Linked DNA regions of Homo sapiens: region 1 is linked to region 2. The links are contacts of gene promoters, found by promoter capture Hi-C in human tissues and cell types (Jung and others, 2019). All regions are on one chromosome and are shown on one strand. Each heading gives the region's core, a stretch centred on a gene start or on the middle of the fragment in contact. The rest is flanking DNA. Distances are from core to core; before and after follow the strand shown.

Region 1 (4,275 bases), core at 1-2,500, 550 kb before region 2:
AACCCAATGTGATTTAGATTCAACACGGTACCCATAAAAATCCTTATCACTGGGGCTGGGCGCAGTGGCTCACGCCTGTAATCCCAGCACTTTGGGAGGCCGAGGTGGGTGGATCATCTGAGGCTGGGAGTTCAAGACCAGCCTAACCAACATGGAGAAACCCCATCTCTACTAAAAATACAAAATTAGCTGGGCGTGGTGGCTCATGCCTGTAATCCTAGCTACTCTGGAGGCTGAGGCAGGAGAATTGCTTGAACCTGGGAGGCGGAGGTTGTAGTGAGCTGGGATCGCTCCATTGCAGTCCAGCCTGGGCAACAAGAGTGAAACTCCATCTCAAAAAAAAAAAAAAAAATCCCTATCAGTTTTTGTTAAAGAAACAAAAAACAGGCTGGGAAAATGGCTCACGTCTGTTGGCCAGGCTGACCTCAAACTCCTGAACTCAAGTGATCTACCGGTGCTGGCCTCCCAAAGCGCTCAGATTACAGGTGTGAGCCACTGTGCCTGGCCCAGTCCTCTTAACATAAACACTTTAATGTCAATTAAGGCTTCAACTCAATGTTAAGTCAAACTCAAGTCAATGCTGAACTGACTCTAGTGTCAATTAATGCTTGATGGTTTGCTATACACATTGTATTTGGAACAACTATCTCCAAAATGAATTTTCTGATATCCTGCAAGGAGTGAGCTCAGACTGAAGACTTTGGCACACTGATGACATTTATAAGATTTCTGTCCAGTATGCATTCTCTGATGTCTAGTGAGGTGTGAATGTGAATTAAAGGCTTTGCCGCAATCATCACACTTGTGAGGTTTCTCTCCTGTATGAATTCTCCTATGTTTTGCATAGAATGAAGCTTGACTGAGACCTTGTCACAATCATGACATTTGTAAGGTTTCTCTCCAGTACGAGTTCGCCGATGAACTGCAAGTTATGAACAATGTCTGAAAAATTTGCCAAATTTATTAAACTAGTATGATCTCTCTTCATTATGGATTCTCCAATGATTCGCAATGGTTGTAGTGTAACTGAAGACTTTGTGACAATCATTACATAAGTAAAGTTTCCCTACACCATGGATTGCCTGATGGTAAACAAGTGTTGACTGCCCACTAAAGACCTGTCACATTCATTATACTTGTAAGCTTTCTCTCCAATGTGAATTCTAGGATGTTGTGCCAGGTGCGAATTATGCCTGAAAGCCTTGTCACAAACTCTTACATTTTTATGCTATCTCTCCAGTAGGAATTCTCCTGTGTCTTTCAAGGTTTGAGTGTGACTGAAAACTTGGTGACATTCTTCACATATGTAAGCTTTCTCTCCAGTATGAATTCTCCTGTCTTTGGAGGCTTGATTTGCGACTGTAAACTTTGTCACATGCTTCACATTTGTAACGTTTATCTCCAGTATGAATTCTATGATGATGTGCAAGCTTTGCTTTTTGATTTAAAACCTTGCCACGTTCATTACACTGCTAAGGTTTCTCTCTAGTATGAATTCTATGACTATCAAGGTTTGATTTGAATCTGAAAGCTTCATCACATTCTTCACATTTGTAAGGTTTCTAATACGACTTCACCCATGAACTGCAAAGGTATGAAGGATGTCTGAAAAATTTTCTGCATTTATTCTGCATTTATCACACTTGTAGGATCTCTCTTCATTATGGATTCTCCAATGATTTGCAATAGTTGTAGCATTACTCAAGACTTGGTGACAATCATTACATTTGTAAAATGCTGACTGCCCATGAAAGGTTTTTCTACACTCATTATCCTTGTAAGGTACCTCTCCAGTATGAAGTCTACGATGGTGCGTAAGGTATGACTTCAGACTAAAGGTCTTGCCACACTCACTACACTTTTAAGGTATCTCTCCAGTATGAAGTCTATGATGGCATGTAAGGTATGAGTTCTGACTAAAGGTCTTGCCACACTCATTACATTTGTAAGGTATCCTCCAGTATGAAGTCTACGATGGCGTGTAAGGTATGAGTTCTGACTAAAGGTCTTGCCACACTCATTACACTTGTATGGTTTCTCTCCAGTATGAATTCTCCTTTGTCTTTCAAGGTTTGATTTGAAATGGAAAACTCAAATTCTTCACATTTGTAAGGTTTCTCTCCAGTACGAAGTCTACAATGGCATGTAAGGGATGAGGTCTGGCTGAAGGTCTTGCCACACTCATTACACCTGTAAGGTTTCTCACCAGTGTGAATTCTCCTATGTCTTTCAAGGTTGGATTTGAAACAGAAAGCTTCTTCACATTCTTCACATTTGTAAGGTCTCTCCACTATGAAGTTTATGATGGTACACAAAAGATGACGTATGACTCAAGGTCTTGCCACACTCATTACACTTGTAAGATTCTCTTCAGTACGAATTTTCTGATGTATTTCAAGGTTTGATTTGAAATTGTAAGCTTTGTCAAGTTCTTCATATTTGTAAGGTTTCTCTCCACTATGAAGCCTACGATGGCATGTAAGGGTTAACTCCTGATTGAAGGTCTTACCACACTCATTACACGTGTAGTTTCTCTCCAGTATAAATTCTCCTATGTCTTTCAAGGTTTGATTTGAAACTGAAAGCTTCATCACAATCTTCACATTTGTAAGGTTTCTGTCCAGTATGAAGTCTATGATGGTATGTAAGGGATGACGTCCGGCTGAAGGTCTTGCCACACTCATTACACTTGTAAGGATTCTCTTCAGTATGAATTTTCTGATGTATTTCAAGGTTTGATTTGAAACTGTAGGCTTTGTCACATTCTTCACATTTGTAAGGTTTCTCTCCACTATGAAGTCTACAAATGTTAAGGGTTAACTGCTGATTGAAGGTCTTGCCACACTCATTACACTTGTAAGGTTTCTCTTCAGTATGAAGTCTACGATGGTATGTAAGAGATGACTTGTGACTAAAGGTCTTGCTACACTCATTACACTTGTAAGGTTTCTCTCCAGTATGAACTCTATGATGGCATGTAAAATGTGACTTCCGACTAAAGGTCTTGCCACACTCATTACACTTGTAAGGTTTCTCTCCAGTATGAAGCCTACGATGGCATGTAAGGTACGACTTCTGACTAAAGGTCTTGCCACACTCATTACACTTGTACGGTTTCTCTCCAGTATGAATTCTCCTATGTATTTGAAGCTTTGATTTGAAATGGAAAGCTTTGTCACATTCTTCACATTTGTAAGGTTTCTCTCCAGTATGAAGTCTACGATGGCATGTTAGGTAATATGTCTGACTGAAGGTCTTGCCACACTCATTACACTTGTAAGGTTTCTCACCAGTGTGACATCTACGATGGCGTGCAACGTATCGCTTCGAATTAAAGACCTTGCCACATATATCGCATTTATATTGTTTCTCTCCTAAATGGATTAACTGATGTTTCCTTAAGAGTGAGCTACAATTATAGGCTTTGCCACTGTCATTGCATTGGAAAGATTTTTCCCTCATATGTACTTCCTGTTTTTGTGTGAATAATGAAGAATTCAGGAAATTATTCCCATAGTCATTAGAAATATGGGTTTCAGGCCTACAAGAAATTCTTTGGGCTGTTGAAACCAAGGAAGCATCGTGGATAGACTTCACAACTTGATTATCAATTTTCTCTTCAGTGTGAAATATGTGCAGTTCAGGCAGATGCGAATGAAAGCTGAATCCAAGCTGATATTTAACAGGCTTGTTTCCAGCATAATTTTGATCATATCGCTCTGTACTACCTGTCAACTTTTTGATTTTTGTCATGAGTGCTTCATGGCCATTTCTTTCATCTTCTTGCCACTGAAACTCAATGTCATGAATATCTTTATCAATATCCTGGAAACAAAAATCTCCATTGTGATGACTTTCATGTCTTTGAGATGTCCCTGCATGGAACACTTCTCTATTGCCTTGTGCTGTTGACGAGAACTCCTTCATCATGCATTTGGAAGAGATATCTAAAAAGTATACACACCAAAAGGTTTCAAATTAAGTACAGATGGTAAATAATGCTGAAATGTGTAAATATGACACAAAAAACAATACTTATTTTAAACTTTGCAAACATGACCCTCAAAGTTTAGGAACAGAAAAGCATAAGATTCTTTAACAAATAAAGGGCGATTACATGTGCTTCAAATTATTTTTACGGAAGTCTATTTCCAATATCGTGACAAAACACTGACAGGGCACAAAAACGTGTAGCCTAAAGTAAGGAATATTTTTCCATCGTGACCCTAAAGTGTCTAACAGTTTGTAAAAAACATATCACTGTCACATCAATGA
Region 2 (4,184 bases), core at 1,076-3,575:
GATACACCGTCTCAAAAAAAAAAAAAAAAGAAAGAAAAACTTAAAGAGGAGGCATTTCCTTTGTTTATGAGGACACCCTACTTTGTAACTGGTAGCGTGTAGTGCAATAAAATTTAGTTTCCTAATATCAATTTAAAAAAAAACAGTTTACCTGTAAGTAGGAAGACTACCCAGCCCCAGAGATAAGACCTTTTGGCATCATTGTCCCTTCTTACGGAGTGATAAAGTAACCTTCCTTGAAGTGTATCAATCCATCACCAGTCAAGCTGCCGCAGCCTATGCACTGGTCTTGAATGGAAAATGTGTTGATTCTGCTAAAGCTTCTCTGTCTTTCCCTGTGTGTGAAACCTTAACATCTCTACATGGGAACACGGGCCCCCTTCATTTGGAGTTGATGTTTCCAGATGGCTATCCTCAAACTTTGTGTTCCAATAAACTCTATAATTAATCGTGTATTCTGAATTTTATTATTTACTGCTGACGTCAGTTTCCGTCAGATTGTAGGAGCCTCACTAGAGAGGGCACCTGTCGCCATGTCGTAAAACTCACACTTGTCAAAAAGACGTGGGTTAATGTATTTCCCCTCCTTCTGCATGAAGCTAGTTAGCTGACACAGATGGTCACCTCCATTACCAAGTAGAGCCAGGATGAACTATGTGCGACCAAAGACTTGTCAAGTCCTCTTCCCTGAGGACTGATTAGTGTTTATCTTGAAAACATGTACTTAATGGGTTGTATAGAGCAGTGAAGTTTCTCTCTTTTCAACCTCTCAGCTCTTTGCCTGTATTTCCCAACACATTCTGGTCTAAGGCTTATTTACTAATAAAATGGTTTTTATTTCTTCCTGTTTTGTCATGAAGATGATTTCTCATTTTGGGGAAGATTTTTTAGTTTTCAATTGTATTTTTTCAACATTTAAAAAGCGAAGTAAAGAGTATTTCTTGGGCCAGGCACAGTGGCTCACGCCTGTAATCCCAGAACTTCGGGAGGCCGAGGCAGGCGGATCACTTGAAGTCAGGAGTTCGAGACCAGCCTGTCCAACATGATGAAACCCCGTCTGTACCCAAAATACAAAAATTAGCCGGGCATGGTGGGTGTGCCTGTAATGCCAGCTACTCCGGAGGCTGAGGCAGAAGAATCGCTTCAACCCAGGAGGCAGAGGCTGCAGTGAGCCGAGATGTCACCATTGTACTCCAGCCTGGGCGACAGAGAAATACTCAGTCTCAAAAAAAAAAAAAAAAAGAAGAAGAAGAAGAAAAAGAAAAAATGTAAATAAAAAGGAGAAAGTAACAGATCTCTTTTACAAATGTGCTGGGACAACTAACTGGATATCCATATGGAGAAGAGTAATGTTGTATTCCTATCTCACACAAGCAAATTTAGTTTGTTTATTTATTTTTAGAGAGGGAGTCTGGCTCTGTCGCCCAGGCTGGAGTGCAGTGGCTCGGTCTCGGCCCACTGCAAGCTCCACCTCCCATGTTCACCGCATTCTCCTGCCTCAGCCTCCTGAGTAGCTGGGACTACAGGCGCCCGCCACCACGCCCGGCTAATTTTTGTATTTTTAGTGGAGACGGGGTTTCATCGTGTAAGCCAGGATGGTCGCGATCTCCTGACCTCGTGATCCGCCCGCCTCAGCCTCCCAAAGTGCTGGGATTACAGGCGTGAGTCACCGTGCCCGGCCTAATAAAAATTTTATTTTAAAAATTTAAAAAAGAGAGAGACTGCGGGAGGGAATGTTACATTGTCGCGCAGGCTGTCCTGGACCCCCAGGCTGAGCGATCCTCCCGCCGCTGCTTCCTGAGTAGCTGGGACCTCAGGCTCCCACGCCCGCATCCCTGCTGTGTTTAAGCAGCAGGTGGTGACCTCACTCCTCCCTGGCCTGAGCACTCCGTCTGGCATCCCAGGCTGTGGCCCTAGGGATGTCTCTGAAGCTGAGCACTGGGTGGACTCTCCCTCCTGAGTGAATGGAGAATAGAAAGGGAGAAGATTTCTATACTGTCCTGTGGGCCATCAGCATGAAATCCTACGTTCCGCCCAGAAAGGGCTTTGCATTTTACATTCTAGTTTGCATCCTCCTTCCAGACTATTCCAGGGCTTTTGAATTATCCGTCTGCCTTCCTGGGGGCTCTCGCCGCCAAAACCCGGAGAACGGGTTGGGAGGAGGCTGAGAGATGCACAGGTCCCGCTCCGGCCCCGCCCTCTGCGGGTTCTAAAGGGCAAGGTCTCGCCGCTTCGCGCCCCGCCCACACCTCACCCGGGCCCCGCTCGCCTCCTCGTTGGCTCCACCCAGGCCTGGTTTCTGTCCTGCGCGCGCAGATTCGCGCAGACCAGGAAGTGGATCCCGTGGAATGACGGTCACGCCGCGGCGGGCGGTGAGTTTTGCTCTGTGTGGTGTTAAGTCTGAGCTTCCCAGGTCCCCGGCACTTCTGTACATGGGATGTGGGGTCCCCATAGACCTGGAAGTTCTCGCCTTTCTTCCTTCACTCAGAGCAAATGGAGATGTTCTACTGGGAGTCCGGAAGCCCCTTCTTTTTAGGTTTAAAGTCGCCCTGAGGCTGGTCCCGTCCCGGGTCTTTCTGCCATAGGGCAATGTATACGTTTCCTATCGCGTAGTTTTCCTGCTCAAAACCGTTTTTTGACTCCTTCCGCACGGCTCTTTTTAAAGTCCTCACCCTAGAGGTGTATTCCCACCCTGTGCGCCTCCCAGCCTTACTCTCCTGGGTTCCTGGAGCACAGCGCGGCGACCCCAGTCCCGGGAAGGCTGCGTTCTGTGGTCCTGGGATCCTGCGGATCCCACCCTTGTCCGAAGGCGTCGTCGCTCCCCACCTCCCTCCTCCTCTTGCTGGGCCCTGCTGCTCCCCAGATCTCCCCTCCGCAGTCACCGCGTCCCCTGAGCCCTCGTTGGAGAGGTGCCTGGGGCTTGTCCTGTGACGCGGGGTGTTCTTGCCCGCCCAGCTCCAGCACTTGGAAAATGCGCTTCTCCGAGATGCAGGCGTCTTACTCCAAACCCTCTTGTGATCGTGTGGGCCAAAGGGATCAGGAGACAGAGAGAGGGACTGAGAGAGCAGTAGAAAACCTGAGACAGAGAAAAGAAGAATGAGAAAGACCCATAACAGATGGCAAAGTAGAGGATGGGTGAGGGATTTGCCAAGAGACAGCAAAAGTGATAAAAGATAAGAAAGCAGGAGGAGAAAAGCAACTGGAGAAATGTAGAGAAAAGCTAGATGTACAGAGAGATGAAGGACAGCAAGGTAGGGAGAGGGGCAGAAATGTGGAGGCTCATCAGAGTGAGGGAGAGGAGGAGGGATGTGGAGCCGGGTCAGACAGAGCAGAGTGGTGCTGGTGGCAAGGAGAACAGAGGGAGAAGCACAGCGGGGAGGACACCTGGGGATCTGGGGTGCCAGATTGGGTCCAGGGGGTTATAACAGAGAAGAGAGAATTTAACAGGGAGAGCAGAGGAGGCGCATAGATGGGAGAAGAGGCAGAAATCTATGGAGATTGAGGACGATCTAAAGATTGGGGAGAAGGACCAACAGGAGGTTAAATAAGTTGCAAGGATGGAGCCCAGCTAATTTTTGTATTTCTAGTAGAGATAGGGTTTCACCATGTTGGCCAGGTTGGTCTCAAACTCCTGACCTCAGGTAATCCACCCACCTCCACCTCCCAAAGTGCTGGAATTACAGGTGTGAACCACCTCAGCTGTCCACCCATGTATTTCTTGATTGAAATAATTTGCTTATGTCTTGGTTCTACAGCTGACCCTGTTTCCCTGTTTTCAAGGTCAAGAGCTGTGTGTTTACACTGCTGCATTTTATAAATGTTAGTGTGATTTTCTTGTAAGGAAGAATTCAATGTTGGGAGTCAATTTCATCAGAACCTTTCAAAAGAATTTTCTTTAACCCAGGCATGTGAAAAATGCTTCTCTAATTTTAAGAATGGGATGATAAGACCAACCCATCCCATTAGCCCTTCCAGGCCCCCATGTAAGAATTCAGGCACACCTTCTCACTCATCTCAGACCTTCTCAGGGTAACTTCGTGAAAATGTTTCCAGCTCTGAGCCCCAGTGAACCTCCCTGCATCTTTGCGACGAAGGGCTAGACCAGAAAAGCTCAACCTGAGTGATCCTGACCCCTGAAATGATTGGCAAAATAGAGGCGGTGTCTGGGTGTGGCTTTTTTTCTG

The links. The method cuts DNA at HindIII sites, captures the fragments that hold promoters and counts their contacts. A contact is called where the count stands out against the background at its distance.
Region 1: a fragment that was not itself captured here is called in contact with the fragment with the promoter of ZNF468 in region 2 in 2 of the 25 tissues and cell types used here (adrenal gland and aorta).

The regions. Positions count from the first base shown.
Region 1 is chr19:53,407,370-53,411,644 of GRCh38, reverse strand. All of the region lies in intron 3 of ZNF765-ZNF761 (ZNF765-ZNF761 readthrough), which reads right to left. It overlaps ZNF765 (zinc finger protein 765), which reads right to left. Exons shown (of 4, transcript NM_001040185.3): 4 at 1-3,947. The coding sequence ends at 2,518. It also overlaps the pseudogene LOC124904793. Among named protein-coding and RNA genes, the nearest start is that of ZNF765-ZNF761, 14 kb to the right of the region's middle. The HindIII fragment of the contact is 3,821 bases long and covers 1-3,160 here.
Region 2 is chr19:52,855,760-52,859,943 of GRCh38, reverse strand. ZNF468 (zinc finger protein 468) reads left to right here and starts at 2,325. Exons shown (of 4, transcript NM_001008801.2): 1 at 2,325-2,372. It also overlaps a transcript of ZNF320 not described here. RefSeq lists an enhancer at 2,647-2,726. The HindIII fragment of the contact is 14,237 bases long and covers 1-4,184 here.